Regions from separate parts of the Homo sapiens genome. Here regions 1 and 2 are each linked to region 3. Evidence: promoter capture Hi-C in 16 types of primary human blood cells and fetal thymus (Javierre and others, 2016). All regions are on one chromosome and are shown on one strand. The core of a region is centred on a gene start or on the middle of the fragment in contact, and the rest is flanking DNA. Distances in the headings are between cores, read along the strand shown.

Region 1 (3,873 bases), core at 14-2,513, 290 kb after region 3:
AAGAAAATTTACATTTATGCCATGAGGTTTCCTTTGAAAAAGACAAACAAAACATAAAGTCCTCTTAAGTAGGTGAAGTCTGTGGGTCATTCTACCTAATGCAACCTGCACTAGGAATAGGCAGGTGTTTCTAACACCTACTGAAATGAGCTTCACTGAAGAACTGTTAAGTATTGTCCTAGAGAAAGTGTGTTGCTAAGAGGAGGAGGGTTGTTTTATAACACTTTGGTGATTAGACCTGAGTGCTCTACTGTTAAACAGTGTGTGTTGAACCAGACCTTGGTTCTCTTGGCTCATTGCCTTTAATTTCCATAGTCGGGATCACCTCAAATCTATCTGCAGACTCAGGATTCTGCCACACCCTAGGTCCTGTTCGTTATTTTATTTTGGCTAAGATTAAAGAGCATTAGCTCATAGCTTAGTATCGACTGAGCCTAGATAACACTAATGGGTCACTGTCGTTACTATGGTCATTAATTTAAGACCAACCAAGTTGATTAGGAAGCTAATGAGTTTTTGAGGCAGACGGCTCCGAGTATGAATCCTGGATCTGCCACTTACTATGTAAGCTTTTCGAATTTTTTCTTTCTAAGCTTCAAGTTTCCTCATCTCTAAAAAAGTGATAATAATACCTATACATGATCTCTGATGACTTGCTAGTCTATATACAACACTAGACGACTTTATCATACATTATAGGGACTTAATGAATGCTTATTTCCCTTTACTGCTCCCCTTCCTTTCTGTGTTTAGGTGTAGAAAAGCTTCCTACCATTATAGTCAGTCACTTTGCACGACTCAGACAATCAGCTGTTGATATTCATGCTGGGAGTGACTGTGTGTCCCTAACTTTATCATAGATCTAGACTGGAAACTCAGGTGAGATCAGTGCCTAGGAGGAGTTAGGAATCCAGGCTGCATTTTCCTTTGTGTTCCTGTAACATTGGAACATGCTTCTACCTTGAAACTTATCACATTATTTTGGAATCACTTTTGGTCGATGTGATATTTCCTCCTCGAAGACAGAGTTGAGGTCTTATTCATCCTAAAGTTCCGCAGGCCTAAAACAGCATCTGGTGAAGGGCACTACCCATGCCATGGGTACTTCATGCCATTCCTCTGCAAAACAGGTCCAGATGACATGATTCAACACGCTTCAAGGTGCCCAGACCTCTTTGAAGGAGAAACACACACAAACTCTGGGGACATTGTTTTAGAATGGAACCAGGCATTAGGCAATCATATTTTCTGAAAATCTTTAATAGAGGATTTTCATTTGGAATTGGCCCGTGCAGGCACGGAGGTCTGTCTACATCAGCAGTTAGCATGCATTCTCTCCTAATCTGTGTCCAGTCCAATGATAAGGCAAAGACGTGGATATCTACCATGAAGTACATGCTCAATGGGGGACATTCATGAGCTTTAACAGTTTGGGAACAATACAGTTTAGGACATACGGGTTATTAATAAGCATTGGTACTAATGTTAGTTATAATTCATGAGCACAATCTCACTATTTTCATAATCATCCTTTGTATAATTAAGTTGTTAAAGATATATGTGAAAATAATGCGTGTTGTAGAAATTAGAAGACTCAGGAGATCAGTGTGGGTTGAAAATGACTTTGTGTGTAAAAATAATTATGGTAATAATTAGCATTTGCATGGCTTCTTGAAATTTACAAAGTGTTTTTACAACATTATCTCATCTTGCAAAGGTTATGAACTGGCCTTTAGATGTCTTATGCCAATATTAAGCTTCCCTGCCAAACCTTGTGCATTATAAGGTAAGATTTGCTAGACAGAAAAAAAAAGAGGATTAATAATGCATTTAAAAGGCAAAAAATCTGCCAAATTTATTGGCGTAGAAATAGATTTATTTGGCATTTTAGAAACTAAGGCGCATATCTTGTAAAAGAAGCAGTTGGCTCATATTTTGATTTCATAGTGCTTGGAACTTTTTTTACATTTTGGGGGATGAGTTTTTGATGTGCAATTGTAATGAGGAAGTTCACTTACTTGGAACTAGAAGATTCATAAAATCAGGGGATATTTGAAACTTTTTAAGGGGCAAAACCTAGAGTGACTTGATTAAACCACTGTAAGTAGAAGTATGGTTAGAGAGAAAATGTGAGGAGCTGATCAGTATTTTGTTTAAAACTCAGGTGTCCATTTCCTTATTTTATTTATTTTAGAGACAGGGTCTTGCTCTGTCCCCCAGGCTGGAGAGCAGTGGGGGTGACCACAGGTCACTGCAGCCTGGAACTCCTGGGCTCAAGCGATTTTTCCCTCTCAGCCTCCCAAGCAGCTGGGACCACAGGTGCATGCCACCACACCCGCCTAATTTCTTGTAGGGGTGGGGTCTTGTTTGTTGCCCAAGCTGTTCTCAAGCTCCTGGCCTCAAGTGATCCTCCAGCCTCAGCCTTTCCAGGTGCTGGGAACAGGCGTGAGCCACAGTGCTGGCCTCTCAGGTCTCCATTTCTTAGAGGGAATCCAGATTGATCTGTAAAGTGCTCCTTCCAGCCATATCTTCCTTCCCACAACCACAACTAAAGGTTGAACTTCCTATCTCATCAACCGCCTAATCTAAAACCATGAGTTAATGAGATAAAAATGAGTCACTAAAATGCAAACGTTCTTGAGAATCAACCTTGAAAGTTAAAGACAAGGCCACCTGCCAGCCCCACCCTCCCACCTCCCCTGCGTGCTTGCCTGCGGCGCTGCGTTTCCCTTTGAAAACGCGAGGTCACCTGGACTGCCCCTGAAGGGAAGACCTGCTATGTGACCCAGGAGCAGCCCGGCGCGGACCCAGGTGAGTCATTGGGTTGCACAGGAAGCGAGACGCCTCCGGATAGCTGTGCTGCAGCTCGCGCGCCCCGCGAGGGTGTCGCCGGCGCAGGGTAAGTCTTTCCAGATGTGGCCGCCGCGCGCGCTTGGCCGCGGGCCAGGAGGCCGCCTGCAGTTGGCGCTTCCCGGGGCCGCAGTGCCAGCCGCAATGCCGGCCTCCTGAAGGCAGGCGACAGCCTGCGGCCGGGAGCACAGCGCGGGGCGGAGTACCGAGGCATGGTCGCGGCGCCCGGGCTGCGCTGAAGGCGTCTGCGAGCGGATGGGGGACCCCAAGGCCCACGTGATGGCGCGCCCCCTGCGAGCCCCTCTCCGGAGGTCCTTTAGCGATCACATCAGGGACTCCACGGCCAGAGCCCTGGATGTCATTTGGAAAAACACTAGAGACAGACGGCTGGCAGGTGAGAGGCAGAGGGGGATTGGAGACCGGGGGTGAGGGGTATTAAAAAGAAAACAATTTACTGCGAAGACGCAGTGATAAGCTTGGTTCATGAATGATCTCATCAGCTGGTTGAAGTTTCATTCTTGTCATGGCAGTGTGTTCGGTCTCCCTTTCTCTAGTATTTAACCTTGATGGAGTGTTGAGATTTTTGTGTGTTTGTTTTGTGTAACGCCGCTCTGGTTACTGGTCTGATTATTTCTAGATAAGGAATTATGAGAGTTGTGGGGTTTTTTAACCTTCAAAAGAGAAGCAAGGTCCTTGTGACTGTCAGGAAATCGGTAGTGATGAACAACTGCTGCAAAAGCCCTGAGATCCTCGGGGCTGTCTCGGGTCAGCTTTGGAGCTGAAGCTGATCAGGTGTGAGGTGCCCTGGCGTGTGTGCAGGAGAGGGGCCTGGCAGGTCTGTGTGTCAGTGGAGTGATGGGCGCTGCCCAGTGAAAGCCTGCTGGTATTTCCTCTGGCAGCCTGGAGCTACTCTCGGTTCCAAGACGGTGTCATGTATGCCAGAGGCAGGCGTTTGAAATATAATAAAGCAAATACAGTGGTGCAATTCAAGTGCTCTAGGGCTCATGTGACAGCCACCAAATG
Region 2 (3,815 bases), core at 904-3,403, 440 kb after region 3:
AAGATACTTTAAGCGCTGGGAATTAACTCAGACCTGGCCAGGGAAGTCTCGGTTTGGTGGCCGCAGGTACCTGGAGAGTGTTGGGGTAGTTTAGCAAGCCCCGTGGCTTGCAAACGTGCTTCTTGCTAGGAAACACACACACACACACACACACACACACACACACACAGTTTTGGTTTTTTTCCCGGAGATGGGTCGCTGAATCGTGTCCCTGAAATGCCCCCTTGGGGATGCCCACCCCCTTGACCCGGACAAGGAGGCCGAGGAGCGAGTTCCTGGGCCGGAGAGAGGAAGGAAGCTCGCCTCCCGACCCGACTATTTTCGTAACAAGGCGACAGCTTCTTGGAAGCCTGCCCCCACTCCATGTCGCTGTCCCCACCTCCAGAGTCCTGGGGCGAGCCTTTGATCCCTCCGAAGGAGGTGCACCCCTCCTCTCTGCAGCACCCTGCTGCGTGTAGTTTGCTGCGTCCGCGAGCGTCCTTCAGCGCACAGCCCCTGGGGCGAGGAAAGTGAGAGGGGACACGGGGTCAGGCTGGTGGGGTCTCATCCTGGTCAGCAGCCTGCTAGCTGGGCGAACTTGGGCAGTGACAGGACCTCGCTGTGCCTCCTTCATCTGCACCAAAGGGGTGATAACTGTATTACCTCCGCGCGGGGAGGTTGTGAGGATCAAATGAGCTCATGCAAGTAAAGTGATTAGCAGGTTGCCTGTTCCCGATGTTCAATAAATACCCAGTGTGTGCTAATCACCGCAGAAGGAAACCCCTGCTTGCAGTCATTAATCTGCACTTAAAGAAAGCTTCGTCCCACTCCCCACCTTTTCCCATCCCCAGTCTTGTTTTGAGTGAGTCTTTTTACACCCAATATGGATGAGCAAATGGATTCATTCTCAGGATTCAGAGGTTGTTTCGGCGATTACTGGTGACATAGAGGAATGCAGCCTAGGCTGGTGGCATTGATGATGTATTTGGAAAAAACATTGCAGCTCGGGAGAAGGCAGAATACTGAGTCTCAGATTACATTTTTTTTTTCCTCCAAAATTCTGTTTGCTGAAGGGATGAGGGAAAATAATAGTCCAGCAGACTGCAGCCCTCTGAATGTAAATCTATCAGCAGCTCCAAGAGGTTGACTAATTCGCCATCCATCTGGACTACAGACTGGTCCTCGGTGGAAATAATTTGCAGACTGTAAGTGTGGAATTAATGGAGTTGCCATCTTGGCTTGCAGACGGCAGCAGATGGTCAGAGGGGTGCCCTGTAAGGCAGCAGCCCCTCTAATCGAAGAACTAAAGTCCTGGGGAACCAGTGTCAAATGGTTAGCAGATGTGTGCACAAAAGTTATTTTGAGACATTTTCTGAGAAAATGTTGGCGATTGCATGTATTCACATTTCTTGTGGCATGCCAGATTTACAGCGTGGCCTGAGCGCAGATGCATACTTTTTGCATTAGTACTACTGTTCAGAGTTTAAAATGAAGCACAGCAGACTGAGTTTCTCTCCTGGCTGTTTTGAAAAGTTTGCTTTTGACAAATACTTATTTTATTTTAATTTACACAGAGTAGCACCAGACACCAAACAGCCTGGAAGTTCAAAAAGGGGACTGGGGATAAATAGTTTCCAACTTAAATCTTTCCCTGGAGTGGGTGAGAAAAGTGGTTTTGGTGACTTATGTCATAACTTCCCAATTGCAGATTTCATGAGAAACACCACTCATTCCTTAAACAGTGAATAGATGAGCAATTAACTATTGCTAACTATGAAGGCAGTGTTTCAAATTTTAATGCACTGGAAAGATTGAAGGATTTTCTTAGGGCTCTGGAGTAAAGGTGAAAGGCAGGTTACCCTTCAACCTAAAGCCCTTGTTTGCATGTTTTTTTGTTGTTCTGTACTGTAGTTGAGAGAGCAAAGACTAAGCAAAGTTTAGAGCATTTCTACATTAAAAGAGGTGTTTGGGTGCTTCTGGAAAATATACCAGACCAGTAGAAAGACATGTTGTGATTCAACAAGCTATTACTGTGAAGTGAGTTTAAAAATGTATATAGTACTTAAACTCTTATTTGTAGAACTATTATGGGACTTAAAGGGGATATGGGAGGCCACAGTTGAGATGCCTTCCAATCAGAGGCTTGGTGAGATTCCAAGAGGTGGTTTCAAATACAGCAATAAGTACTTGGGTTTCCCTTGGTGTCCCCATGGAGATTTTAAGCCATGACGCAATGTTTAAATCAGAGTGGTATTTTTATGACTTAAGCGGGTAAATATGCAATTGGAAAATATTCAGGGAAGGGTGATTTGGTCCAGAAGAGTGGGGGCATCCAGAGTACAGTGGGTGAAATGGATCGGACTTTTTGGAAGAGAGCCTTGTGCTGGACAGGATGGTCCAGTATTGTCAACACAAGTTTCTCATGCTTCACTCTCCTTCCTAGCAACAGGAAGACGGAAATGAGGCCATGCAAAAATAAAAGACCCTGAAAGACTCCAGACAATACCTGATCCACCCTACCATTCACCCTGTATAGCCAGAAGACTTTTACAAAAGTAAAAATAACTTCAGATGTTTCCCCTTCCTCCCTGGCTATTGCCAAATCATTAAAGACCGAATTCTCAGTGCTTTACAACATCATAGCAAAACCTGGCCCCATGGTGTGACTCGCATCCAGACCCACATCATGCCAAGCCTGTTCTTGAGATTATAAAGCAGACCTGGGGAGAAAGGTGATTTTCATTTGTAATGTGTGCACAGTCCAATGATTTGAATTACATGAGTTGGGATCTAGTGGGAGAGAACTAATTTCTTTAGTGTCTAGACAGTTGTATCTCTGACTTTTCTCAGAATGCTCATTTTATCAGGATCTGCTCCTGAAATTCTTAGTTTGGAGCTGTGGGGCTCTAATGCAAAGGAGTAATCTGTACGTCATTCAAGACACTAAAAAATACGTTCCTTCATGTTGCAGTCTGGGTGAACTAATGCCCAACCATAGAGTGTAAATATCCAGTGTGTCCTAGAAAGCACAATTCCAAGATCCTCTTTTCCATGGCTATGAAATTAGAAGGAACATGCTTTTCTGGAGCACTTTCACAACTGTCTCTATTTCTGACTCTGTGGCCTTTGCATATGGATGAATGCAGAGGGAGGTGAAGGCTGTTCCTCTTTGAAGGAAGACAGTGCTGTAGGGTTGAAGTATGTTTTATAGGAATGAGTTACTGCGTTGAATGAGCGCCATCAGCGGTGTTTTCTTTCAGCTTCAAATTAGTTAGAGATCCAGTTAATGTAAAAGGGTTTAGATTCCCAGCTGAGAAGGGCTCCTTCTGTCCTCTGGCCCTTTTCCTTCTGTGGGACCTTGTGTTATTAGGGATTACCATGATCAGTGATAAGAACTGCGGAGTCCTCCTGGGGATCCTCTAATTAGGTCTACTCTGTCTTAACGTTTTGTTCACTTGCCATCATAATTAATGTTCTGCCTTGCCATCATAATTAATGGAGAACAGGAAGAAAGCCTTCACATTAAGCTTATATATTTTCTTTTTTCTCTTTTTTTTTTTTGAGACGGAGTCTCTCTCTGTCGCCCAGGCTGGAGTGCAGTGGCGCAATCTTGGCTCACTGCAAGCTCCGCCTCCCGGGTTCACGCCATTCTCCTGCCCCAGCCTCCCGAGTAGCTGGGACTACAGTAGGCGCCGCCACAATGCCCAGCTAATTTTTTGGTATTTTTAGTAGAAACAGGGTTTCATCGTGTTAGCCAGGATGGTCTGGATCTCCTGACCTCGTGATCCGCCCGCCTCGGCCTCCCAAAGTGCTGGGATTACAGGCGTGAGCCACCG
Region 3 (4,193 bases), core at 929-3,428:
AAGGTTCATAAAATCTTCACGACCAAAATGGCTATCTAGATAATTTGTTTAAGCGTTCTTCTCTCAAAACTCAACACCTAACCCCAGCTTTACTTCTTCTTCCCCTTACAGCTAAATATTTCAAGGAGTACCCTATATCCATTCATTATTTACTTACATTTTTCCTCAATCTATTTTGTCTGCCCCATTTGTATAAGTGAAATGGCTTTTGCTAAGGTCAGCAGTGCCCAATACATGACTAAATCATCTTTACATGGCTTCTCTGTTGATTGATGTGGTTAGACAACTATCCTTCTTTAAATATTCATTCCTTAGCATCTATGACACTATACATTCCTGATTTCCTTGATCCACTTGATAACTTTTTTCACAATCTTTTCTGCAGGTTTATTTTTCTCTACTTAGCCATTAATTGGCATTTCTCAAGAGTTTGTATCAACCCTGCTTCTCTTCTTATTCATTTCCAAAAACGCTTGACAATCTACGGCTTCAACTTCCAGCTATATGCCATTGATCCCCACCCTTCCCCCAGTCCTACCCCAATTTATTTTGCACCTCTAGGCTATACCTTTCCTCTGAAGCGCAAAAACAAATAATCAAATGTTTCTTCAAACTGTCAATGTGTATGTCCCAAATGCACCTTATATGTCCAAATAATCATACTCTTCAACAGTTCCATCAAACATAGTCCTCTTCTGGTGTTCCTGTCTTAATGAAATTAATGATCATTCATCCGGGCGCACAAGTCAGAGCCTTAATAACATTTCAAACATCTACTATTTATTAATTCCCCATAGCCATTTGATCGCCAAAGACAGTTATTACTTTTTAAGTTTCTCTTACATCCCCATACTACTTTGCTTCTGTACCATCAACATCCTGGCCCAAACTACCAACATAGTTCTCTTGGAATTTTGTAAAAGTTTTTATAACTATTCCAACTACAACAGTGCCTTCTATAATAGGAAAAAAAAAGTGAAAGTTCTTAGTCCTCAAATCTGTGAAGGAAGCATAGTAAAGTCTTAAGTTAGTTTCCCAAGTGCCTGTAGAAATTATGGTAATTACTCAAATACACAACAAAGACATCTATCCACATTACACATTATCATTAACAATCACCAGCTCTGGTTTGATTAGAGTAAGTCGCTTGAGAAATGGCAGAGAAAATGGTAAATGACAAGCACTATTTCCATCTCGCTGCAACTTCTGCTCTGTCTCTGATCTTTCAAAACCAGAGTATCTGATATGACTTTTCTCAGTCAGTCTTTTCCAGATTATTCTGGGGTCATCTGAAAGCCTGGGAAAGTCTTGATGTGCTTCTCCAATACGGGTGAGAAAGTCTTTGGTATGAAGATGTTCATCTATTCTCTCTTGGAGTAGAAATGACTCCAGTAAAGTCTTCTTTTGTTTCAGAAAGGCAGACAGGGCCAGCTCCGCTCTTTTCCTGTTACAATAGGGACACTGATAAGATATGTGTTGCTTAGCTGCTGCCTCCTGTTTTGGCGTTGTCCTCATGTTTTTAAAGTAGATTCTGTTCAAAAGTTCATCGGGTACAGTACAACTAAAGGCATCTCTCTCTGAAGCCTCTACATCCAATCCAAGATGCAGCTTTTTATGTCTGCTGCTCGTCTTCTTCTTAGAATCCCCTCTACGATGAATCAAATTTATCTTCATGGTGCAATAAGACTGCAGGGCATTCAATTCTTCATCTGATACCCGAGTGATTTCTGTTGGAAGTTTGGTGTCTGGTTGGTGCCGTTCAAAGTTAGAGTCTTTGAGCTTGAGGTAGTTGATCCATTTTTTACTCAACTTCTTTTCATAATTTTTATAGTCCAAAAGCTCAGATTGTGTGTCTCCTTGTTCCAAGCTTGGAGTCTGCTTTTCCCTCTCCAGTTTGCTCCCAGAGGTCAGGGGCGAGGACTGCCGTCCTCCAGAGGAGCTGAATGAGCTGGAAGTCTGTACCTCATCAGTAGAGTTCTTCAAAGTCTCAGTCTCATCAGAAAGGTTTGCAAGAGCACTTTTGTCCGTTTGGGCCAATTCTGGGCAGATGGCCATCACAATGCATCAGGCTCGGCTCCTCATCTCCTTTGCCCAGGTTAAGACTGGCTCAGGAACCCGTCAGGAGCTGACCCCTCCGGGAATGGATCTCAATGCCATCAGCTCTGCGGAGGTCGTCTTCCGGGAGACGCCTTCCCAGCTGTCTTGGCAACGCGGGCCGCTCATGCGCAGTGACTGGCCACCATGCGGCGTCCCGCCTTTTCCTCCGCGCTCCCCAGCGCCCACTGCGCTTGCGCTGCTTGCGCCGGGTTGGCGATTTTGCCCTGTCTTCTGCACTCCTGCTTCTCTTTGGTGCTAAAGTCGAGTAGTCAACGGGAAAACCTTGCAAACTCTGTTTCCCAGGGGTCAGACAGGTGGCACACGTGTGTGAGACCAATAGAGTTAGGTGGCCTGTGACAAATCCGAACGTGTACGCCCGCCTAAATGCATCTAGATTTAAAAATCAAGCAAAACGCGCTGGACAAGATGCACAAGCAAAAACTTGTCTGCAGTGTTTATAGCCAAGAGACACCTCCTTGTAGAGCATGTCTTTGGGGAAAAGTCAAAATACAGAAACCATTCTGTAAGAAGTAGTGTTCTGTGCTCCAGCATTCTGAGGACCTCGAAGTTTGGGCGGGGTCGGGGGTGGGGAGCAGGGGCGGGGGAGGACCTTAATTTTCCAAATCAGTTTCTCTGGCCTTTTGTCCATACAGGTCCCCTCTGGCTAGCATATCCACGCCCGTCCTCACTCTTAATATCGTTAATTTATCCTCCTCCTCCGAGTCCCATTTCCTCAGGAAGGGCTTAATACCCACCCCTGCCTTAAACTCTTTCCAGCATTTTTTTTTAAATAGTGTCCAACTATGTGATTGTATGAGTATCTGATTATGAAGGCTGAAGGCAGAAATCATGTCGGTGTTGCCGACTAGTATGAGCCCAGCAATCAGCAGACACATAGCAGGTGTTCAAGAAATCTCTGTTGAGTGAATGGCTATGGAACAAATAAATCTTACCTTACACACGTCCAGAGGATTTGGAGAAATAAGTACTATAAGTTCAGGGAACTCTAACCTTTTTTCTAACTGAATCCCCAAACTTAGGCTATTACACAGGATATATTTTTTATTAATGGATTCATTTAAAAAACACAGTAGAGTTTTATTAATTATCGTGAGAAATTATAAAATGTTAACTCTAGAGATGGACTTTTCCTAGGTTATAATAGTTCTTGAGTCTAGGACTTAGTCAATGTCTAGGATAATTTTAAGAGCCTAGACACCCTTCTTTCTCAGTTTTGTCTCTCTCTCTCTTTCTTCCTGTGTTTCTTGGGGATTGGGGGGTATTATTCAGGTCTAGCCAGATATATTCCCCAAATGTTCATTCTGGCAAAAAGTGAAAGTCAAATATTCAAAAAGCATCTCTCAAGTATATGAGCCAGCTTCCTGTTGAAGATAAGGAGACTCCAACTTCATTTATTCAACCCAAATTTTATTTTATCATATAATGGTAGTCTTTAAAAAAGAGGTGGCATGTAATTTGTGAGTAACTCCAAGTAATTTCCAATAGGGCTCAATATTTTCCTTATTTATTATTTCAAATCTCTGCCTCATTCTCTGAATATTTACACATTCATATTTACACACTATTCATGTTTTAGCTATATCTTATCCATAACATTGAACAAGGGAGCTATACTTAAAATAAAATCTATCTGTGTCTTCTAACATGCCAAATGTCTGGGGTAATCTGTCTTTTTTATAATCGTGTCTTAAATTTCTCTTGATTTTTAAAAATAACTTTATCCTAGAAGGAGATATATGTGGGTGGGAAATTCTATAATTAATTTCCTTGTAATATTCAGCGTGACCCAGTGGACAGTTTTACATTCTAGTAAGTGTGTTATCTAAGGAAGAAAATTTCTCAACAGTACTATATTTATCAAATAAGATTCATGAAAACACAGGTCAAAGTTTGATTTTAAACAAATATGAAGAGTAATAGTTTTCCTTTGGAAATCTCAATCTTCTTGCCATCTCTCAGGGGCTGTTGGGAATGTCAAAATGCTTTGTGGACCAAGCTGTGGCTGAAGGCTGCTTGTGGTGGGGATTGGGAGATATGAAGAATAGAAAAGAGAGTCCAGTCAGGCTCTCTTGGCC

The links. The method cuts DNA at HindIII sites, captures the fragments that hold promoters and counts their contacts. A CHiCAGO score of 5 or more calls a contact.
Region 1: a contact is called between a fragment that was not itself captured here and the fragment with the promoter of C8orf48 in region 3, in 1 of 17 cell types (endothelial precursors). The highest score is 5.9, in endothelial precursors.
Region 2: a fragment that was not itself captured here is called in contact with the fragment with the promoter of C8orf48 in region 3 in 1 of 17 cell types (endothelial precursors); the score reaches 5.2 in endothelial precursors.

What each region holds. Positions count from the first base shown.
Region 1 is chr8:13,275,633-13,279,505 of GRCh38, reverse strand. All of the region lies in intron 5 of DLC1 (DLC1 Rho GTPase activating protein), which reads left to right. Among named protein-coding and RNA genes, the nearest start is that of DLC1, 240 kb to the left of the region's middle. The HindIII fragment of the contact is 993 bases long and covers 767-1,759 here.
Region 2 is chr8:13,128,560-13,132,374 of GRCh38, reverse strand. All of the region lies in intron 5 of DLC1 (DLC1 Rho GTPase activating protein), which reads left to right. Among named protein-coding and RNA genes, the nearest start is that of TRMT9B, 180 kb to the right of the region's middle. The HindIII fragment of the contact is 2,710 bases long and covers 799-3,508 here.
Region 3 is chr8:13,564,854-13,569,046 of GRCh38, reverse strand. C8orf48 (chromosome 8 open reading frame 48) reads right to left here and starts at 2,178. Exons shown (of 1, transcript NM_001007090.3): 1 at 759-2,178. The coding sequence starts at 2,055. The coding sequence ends at 1,096. It also overlaps a transcript of DLC1 not described here. The HindIII fragment of the contact is 14,151 bases long and covers 1,870-4,193 here.